Linked DNA regions of Homo sapiens: region 1 is linked to region 2. The links are contacts of gene promoters, found by promoter capture Hi-C in human tissues and cell types (Jung and others, 2019). All regions are on one chromosome and are shown on one strand. Each heading gives the region's core, a stretch centred on a gene start or on the middle of the fragment in contact. The rest is flanking DNA. Distances are from core to core; before and after follow the strand shown.

Region 1 (4,066 bases), core at 85-2,584, 1.1 Mb before region 2:
GGAGGCCAAGGTGGGAGGATTGCCCAAGCCCAGGACCAGCCTTGGGACCAGGCTATTAACATAGGGAGACCCCATCTTTACAAGACACAAAAATTGCTGGATGTGGTGGTACGTGCCTGTAGTCGCAGTTTACTTAGAAAGCTGAGGCAGGAGGATTGCTTGAGCCCAGGAGGTTGAGGCTGTTGTAAGCCATGATTACGCCAGTGCACTCCAGCCTGGGCAATGGAGCCAAGACCTTGTCTCAAAAAAAAAAAAAAAATTTGTTTTTTATTAGGTTACTATGGCCAAGCAGCTAACAAATGCTGCTCACCAATGCTTAATCCTTGTGGAGCCTCTGGAATATAGTGATTTTGGTTTCTTTACCTGCTGGTCGATCTGTGGTTGGGCCTTGGCACTTCACCGGTCAAGGATCATCAGTGGATGCTTAACAGCTGAAGATGCATGGCATGTCCAGTGCCAGGCCACTGTAATGCTTCTACCTGGAGAAGGATTGGTTACACTGCTCCAGTACAGAAGTACTGCAGACCTTTTTTTTTTTTTGAGATGGAGTCTTACTTTGTCACCCAGACTGGAGTACAGTGGTGCAATCTGGCTCATTGCAACCTCTGCCTCCCAGGTTCAAGCGATTCTCATGCCTCAGCCTCCTGAGTAGCTGGGATTATAGGCTTCCACCACCATGCCCGGCTAATTTTTGTATTTTTAGTAGAGGTGGGGTTTCATCATGTTGGCCAGGCTGGTCTTGAACTCCCAACCTCGGGTGTGATCCACCCACCTTGGCCTTCCAAAGTGCTGGAATTACAGGTGTGAGCCACCACGCCCAGCCTTTTTTTTTTTTCCCCCCCCCTCAAGTAATGGTCCATGACCTGCTGAAAGTACTGGAGTCTTGGATAAACATTCTGGTTTAGAAATACCTTTTCCACTTTTTTTGCCTTGCCATTTTGGCATTTTGCAAAAGTGGGTTTTCAGTTACTCAGAATTGGGCACCATAGTTAACCTCCTATGGATTACAGGTGTTTAGGGGCTTGAACTCTGATCATTCCCAGGTTTTAGAGGAATCCAAGTTCGGGTGAATATTGACTTAGTAGCCTTGAGTATTCTTCCTGAAATTACCCCTCCTCTCCATTTAAATGGATGAAATTAGTTTTTTACTGAATGTGAAGGGACATCTGAATGAACTTCTGTTTGTTTTTGTTAGTCACTTGTGCATAGCTGGAATATTATCTTGGGACAGGTTGAGTCTATTTCCCAGTGGCTTCTGCATTTTCTAAGGGTGGACTGGAATGGGAAGAAGTCTAATGCCAAGAATGCATTCCAACATGCTGCAGAGTAGGAAATTTGATCCCTAAAATGTTGACTTAGTGTTGGTCATGGTACATATTAGAAATCACCCAGTAATCCAGGACAGATTTTTGTCACCCTCCAGGAAGTTATGTTGATATAAATACTAAGGGGCTTTGGGTACTGAGCTAAGTGCTCTGCAGGCCCAAAGCGCTGCTTGAATTGCTACCCATATGAAGAGGAAATGTGCCATGTGCCTTTTTTTCTCTCTTTTGCATTTGGGCTTCCTTATGGCTTTGTTGCTTTTATGTTCCCAAGTCTGCAAAGTTAGATATTAGACTTCCTCCTCCCTTGGCACTGGCAGATTCATGATTTTCCATGGCTCATCACTAGCAGCCAAGATTTTTGTATGCTTTTCTCTCTTAAACTTGTTCGTTTTCAGCTTGCTTGTTTATAGGCATCTCTGTTAAAAGGAACCCTTCTTTTCCCCTTAAGATCTAGCACCAGGGGTGCTTGGGGGTTGTTGTGATATCAGTCAATTAAAAGCCCATTTGGTGTGTGCTTGGTGTTTTTATTTTGCTCATGTTTTCTTTGAGGTCACAACGTGCTTGCCGGGCATGAGTGCCTTTGGGCCCAGCTGTTTACTCTCAACTGCCGTGTACTTTGACTTTAAGAAAAGTGCAAATTCAGCCACGTGGTAGAGGGATTAAAGGCCACATAGTGTTGGATGCTTCCTTTTGGAAGAAACAGATATATCTTTGGGCTCTTCTTGCCCAGTGATTTCTCCTGTCTGGGGTAGACATTGTTGCTTTCTGTTGTCCTTAGAGAACAGGGCAGAAATGCTGGGAATTGGTTTATTACTGTGTCTCTTTGGCAAATATGTATGTCTTTTTCTCTTGCCCTTTGGACAACATTCTGTTCTGGTCCTAAGGTGTTGGAGTTCACAGGTTGATCTAGCGTTATGTGAAACTCTTGGTAATTTAGGTTTGGATAACCGGCTTTTAGTCTCCAGATTTCTAACATTGTGCTTGTTTAGGAATTTAGGCTTCTAAAGAGAACCATATTACAAAGCTTTTGGGGAACAATTCTGTAGGTAGTTTATCTGTTCTTGGGTCACAGATCCTCACCAGGATCCTGACTTTTTTTTTTTTTTAGACGGAGTCTTGCTCTGTCACCCAGGCTGGAGTGCAGTGCAGTGGGGCAATTTCAGCTCACTGCAGTCTCCGCCTCCTGGGTTCAAGGGGTTCTCCTGCCTCAGTCTCCTGAGTAGCTGGGACTACAGGCATGCGCCACCGCGGCTGGCTAATTTTTTTTTTTTTTTTTTTTTTTTTTGAGATGGAGTCTTGTTCTATCGCCCAGGCTGGAGTCCAGTGGTGTGATCTCGGCTCACTGCAACCTCCGTCTCCCAGGTTCAAGTGATTCTCCTGCCACAGCCTCCCGAGTAGCTGGGACTACAGGCGCCTTCCACCACGCCCTGCTAATTTTTGTATTTTTAGTAGAGATGGGGTTTCATCATGCTGGCCAGGCTGGTCTGAAACTCCTGAGCTCGTGATCTACCCGTCTCGGCCTCCCAAAGTGCTGGGATTACAGGCATAAGCCACCACGCCCGGCCTAATGTTTGTATTTTTAGTAGAGATGGGGTTTCACCATGTTGGCTAGGCTAGTCTCGAACTCCTGACCTCAGGTGATCCGCCGGCTTTGACCTCCCAAAGTGCTGGGATTACAGGCGTGAGCCACTGTGCCTGGCAAGGATCCTGACTTTCAAATGATGGCCACCATGCATTTGAGTACTTATTATGTGCTAAGCATTATGCTTAGTCCTCTTGATGAATTTCCTAATTTAATCTTCAAAACTGTATAGGAGGTGGGTTCTATTATTAATCTTCCTCTTTTACAAATGAGGAAATAGAGTAAGATAAGAAATTTGCCCTAGGGAAAATAGCTGGTAAAAGGTAGAGTTGGGTTTGTCTGACAAGGTAGACAAGGTTTGTCTGACTCTTCAAAGGTATTACAATCTAAAATACTAACTTTGCTTCTCCAAAATAAATTACTCAGGCACCAAGATTGTTTAGGACATTATTTTTACAATAGCCTGAAACTCTTAAATGGGGTGAAAGACTGAAAAGCCATTAGTTAACAATTTGACATCGTGCCTAGAGCTCTGTCCTGTCATTCCCTTCCATCCCTTCCACTTAGGGTTTTGTTGTTTTGGATTTCCGATGAATGGCCATGGCACTTGGTTTATAGCTGCCTTGTGATTCCATTGGTGAGAACTGGCAGCATCTGGTCCTCTGGTCCCCGGTCCTCTCTTTCTCAAGAGGGATCTTTTGGGGTTGAGAGTGAGATTCAGCCTTTAAGATACAGTCCTTCACTTTTTTTTTTTTTTTTTTTTTTTTTTTTTTTTTTTTGAGACGGAGTCTTGCACTGTCGCCCAGGCTGGATTGCAGTGGCGTGATCTCGGCTCACTGTAACCTCTGCCTCCTGGGTTCAAGTGATTCTTCTGCCTCAGCCTCCTGAGTAGCTGGGATTACAGGTGCCCACCACCACGCCCAGGTAATTTTTTGTATTTTTAGTAGAGATGGGGTTTCACTGTGTTGGTCAGGCTGGTCCTGAACTCCTGACCTTGTGATCCACCTGCCTCGGCCTCCCAAAGTGCTGGGATTACAGGTGCGAGCCACCGCACCCAGCCAGAGTCTTTCACTTTGATCTGAGTGAAAGTGACTTGAATTATGAAAGTATATGCAGAGTGATATTACTTTTCCAGAAACTTGGAGCACTTGCTGAAGAG
Region 2 (4,019 bases), core at 1,364-3,863:
TCTACATTTCTTTCCCCCAAATCCTGGAATAACTCACTGTCTTCCTGTGTTTTGTGACATGCTCCATGATTCTTTTGGTGTGCAGTTTCCCTTGCAGCAGCAAGTTAATAAACTTAACTTTGTCTGACTACAGGTGGTCTTTATCAGATGGGCTTTATCTTGGAGATTACTGATAACGTACACAAAATGTGTTCATACTGCCTGGCACCTAACAGGCATTTAAGCAATGATAAAATTATTATTTTTATTATTCATGTGTTAATTCAATAAATGTTTGTTTGACATCCAGTATTTGCAAGGCACAGATTTACTGCTATGAGAGATGCTCACTGCAACCTCTGCCTCCCTGGCTTAAGCTACACTCCTGCCTCAGCCTCCCGAGTAGCTGGGACTACAGGCTCAGGCCACTATGCCCAGCTAATTTTTGTATTTTTGGTAGAGATAGGGTTTTGCCATTTTGCCCAGGCTGGTCTCGAACTCCTGAGCTCAAGCAATGATCAGCCTGCCTCAGCCTCCCAAAGTGCTGGAATTCCAGTTGTGAGCCACCGCGCCCAGCCTAAAAACCACTTTTATTTTACATGGAGAAAGAAAACAATATTTTTAATTCCTAAAAGAAAAATATCTTTACTGAACTTCACTTTAAATAGTGTCAAATGTAAATGAAAAAAATCATCAGTACTATTATATAGGTAAAAAAGTGCAATTTACATGACTTGCTTAAGATTTGACATAAAACTACAGATTCTAAGAAACGGTAAGGTTTTATAATAATAACCAAAACAGGCTGGGTGCGGTGGCTCACGCCTGTAATCCCAACACTTTGGGAAGCCGAGGCGGGTGGATCACCTGAGGTCAGGAGTTCGAGACCAGCCTGGCCAACATGGTCAAACCCCATCTCTACTAAAAATACAAAAAGTACCCGGGCGTGGTGGTACACGCCTGTAATCCCAGCTACTCGGGAGGCTGAGGCAGGAGAATCGCTTGAACCCAGGAGGCGGAGGTTGCATTGAGCCGAGATTGCGCCATTGCACTCCAGCCTGGGCAACAGAGCAAGATTCTGTCTCAAAAATAAAATAAAATAAAATAACCAAAATAAGAGTCCCCAAATGTCATCCGTCTCTTTCTAGAGACAGGGAAAAAAAATGCTCTCATAAATTCTCCAACGAAAAATAGAGATAGTCACCCTTAAAAAATCCTAAGGCTGGTGGGTGGATTGCTTGAGCCCAGGAGTTTGAGACCAGCCTGGACAACATGGCCAAACCCCAACACTACAAAAAATATAAAAATTAGCTGGGCGTGGTGGCGCACGCCTGTAATCCTAGCTACTCAGAGGTTAGGTGGTAGGACCTCCTGAGCCCAGGAGAAGGAGGATGCAGTGAGCAGAGATCGCGCCACTGCACTCCAACCTGCGTGACAGAGCGGGACCCTGTCTCAAAAAAAATAAAATAAAGAAAAAATCCTAAGGCCATATACAGGCTCATTCACTTTGGGTCTCCTTTCATCCAGGCAAGCAGCTTTCTGTCTTTGCATTTTCCAAAGACTACAAAGCAGGCTGGGGTGGGGTGGGGTGGGGTGTAGAACACAGGAAACGCAGCCAGTTCCCCTTCACTTCTCACTATCTTGATCTCCTCCCAAACCAAAATCCTATGTCTTTCCTTTTAACATAGGCTTACAAAAATGCAGTTTTCTGTGGGAACATTGAGGTCATGCATTCCAAATTACTTAAGGGAACGATTTTTAAATTTTAGGAATCTAGTTCTCCAAGATATCCCGGCTTGGGATATAGATGAACGAGCTATTTGGGAGAGATTTAGACGAGAATGAATTTTAGAGAAGTAGCGAGGTGAGGAGAGAGTCAGCTTAGCGTTTGGGTTTTGCAGTCAAATTTCAGCAAGGCGAACTAACCTCGCTGGTCTTAATTTTCTCATCGGTAAGAGGGAAAATAATAATGCTTACTTTGATGAATTACTTTACTTCAACATTTAAAAAACCGACTCTCCGTTATCTATTCTAATGATAAAAATATAGATAGAGCATCGTCCCCTGCTGTGAAAAATCTTATGAACAAGTGAATTGCGGTGAGGATTCACATAGTATGTGCTCAATAAACATTATTTTATTGTTTAGATTAGAAGAGGGGTGGAGGGAGAAATGAAAGTGGTTTGGAAACCCCAAACACTACCAAAGCCCTGGGGATGGAAGTAGAGAGGAATTTCGGGTTACGATTTGGTTCCGGGTCTGAGTTTCAACGTTGAATTCTCCCATATTTGGGCCTGAATTCTCAGAACAGAATAGGATGTAAGGGCTGAGATCATCTGGTACAGTTTTATGCAAATCGAAAATTCTTGCCTCTTGTCACTGTGCCCTGGCGAGAAACAACACCTCCACCCAAGCTCATCCAATCTCAGCCCCAACTAGGTGACGTCATCTCCCCGCCCTGCATCCCCAAGCCTCGGGGAGTCCTGTCTCTAAGCTACAGTCCCAGCTCCAGTCCCAGCTCCAGTCCCAGCGGCGCCTGCGCACTTTGGACCGGGGCGGGGAGGACGCGTGCGCGCCGCGTGAGGGCGGGGCTAGTGCGCACGCAGCCTTAGCTCCTTCCCCGCCCTTGCTCTTCCCAGTTTCTCCGTCAGCCTGCGGGTCCCGGCTGGCGGCTGCTTCCGGTAGGAGAGCGGTGTAGAGCGAGCAGGTCTCAGCTCCTCGTCATGTCATACGGTCCCTTAGACATGTACCGGAACCCGGGGCCCTCGGGGCCCCAGCTCCGGGACTTCAGCAGCATCATCCAGACGTGCAGCGGCAACATCCAGCGGATCAGCCAAGCCAGTGAGCCGGGGTACCGAGCTGGGGGGCGGGAGCTGTCCCGGGGACAGGCCTGGGTGAGGCTGCCGGGACGCAGGGCCCGGCTGGGGCTACGGCCGAGGCCACACCTGGGGCTGTCTCGGGCTGTCCACCCTGGGGGCGGTGGGCTGCCATCCCCCAATCTGTCAGGCCCGGGTTGCCCGAGGGTCCCCGGCCCCAGCTGAAGCTTGAGCTGCTTCTCTGGAGTTCTGCCCCCACGGTGCTGGGACCAAAACAGCCGACTTGACAGCCCGAGGGTGGGAAGGGGAGTGTGTGTCACCTCGAGAGCTGTGAGTGCGTTGACTTGGCGCAGTGGTCAGCCGAGTTTCTCCTGTCACCCACCTTCCTCCCCACCCACCTCGCTTTCCTCTTAGACCAGTTTGGATGGGGTTGTTTACTGATTTAGCCTTTAGGTTTACATTCTGCTCAGCCCCTGGCTCCTCGGAAATCAGCAACTTTCAATTAAGGGAAGTGGAGAGTGCATGTGTTTGGGTGACTTCATACACAGTTCTTCCTGTAATGAATTCGGAAATCAGACACAATGACTGGTATTTGAAAGGTGGGATGACTTCATTTTAATAAAGAGAATTCACCAACAGCATTTCAATTTACATTATTTTGTCTTTTGTAACAAATAATTGGGGTGTATTTTTGGATTTCAGGCAGATGAGGCTTTTGTTTTCCTTCCCTACTTAGCTGCTCTTGAACAAATCTGGTACACAGGGAAGCTAAGACACTTAGCCACAACCACATAGCAAGTAAGGCATGGTAGAGTTGTTGGTGGAATTCAGAATGCTATTGCTTGTCTTAAAACTCCCTCCTCCCCATTAGGGTCTGAGTGAAACTGTAGCTGAATGAGTCAAATACAGGGTGTTTCTTGTGCTTGAAAATCATCTTGGAGCCTTATAAACAGGAGATCAGCAGCAGCTTTACTTGGAAAGAATGGTGGTCATCATCCTTGTTGTTTATTATTGTTTTGTGAGCTTGGCGTACTCTGTTAATAGGTAGAACTAGTTAGTCCTGAATTACAATTATATTCTATATTTTAAAGAGTGTCACTTTGCTTTCGTTTTTAAACTTTTAAAAATTTTTCTTTTTTGTAGAGATGAAGTCTTGCTATGTTGGCCAGGCTGGTCTCAAACCCCTGGGCACAAGCACTTCTCCCACTTTAGCCTCCCAAAGTG

What was found. The method cuts DNA at HindIII sites, captures the fragments that hold promoters and counts their contacts. A contact is called where the count stands out against the background at its distance.
Region 1: a contact is called between a fragment that was not itself captured here and the fragment with the promoter of STX12 in region 2, in 1 of the 25 tissues and cell types used here (dorsolateral prefrontal cortex).

Annotation. Positions count from the first base shown.
Region 1 is chr1:26,704,617-26,708,682 of GRCh38, forward strand. The region is part of intron 1 of ARID1A (AT-rich interaction domain 1A); the gene reads left to right. Among named protein-coding and RNA genes, the nearest start is that of ARID1A, 11 kb to the left of the region's middle. RefSeq lists an enhancer at 2,800-3,299. The HindIII fragment of the contact is 8,241 bases long and covers 1-4,066 here.
Region 2 is chr1:27,770,606-27,774,624 of GRCh38, forward strand. It overlaps STX12 (syntaxin 12), which reads left to right and starts at 2,614. Exons shown (of 9, transcript NM_177424.3): 1 at 2,614-2,820. The coding sequence starts at 2,703. RefSeq lists enhancers at 2,334-2,483, 2,450-2,950, 2,604-2,753, 2,951-3,451 and a silencer at 2,864-3,073. The HindIII fragment of the contact is 12,641 bases long and covers 1-4,019 here.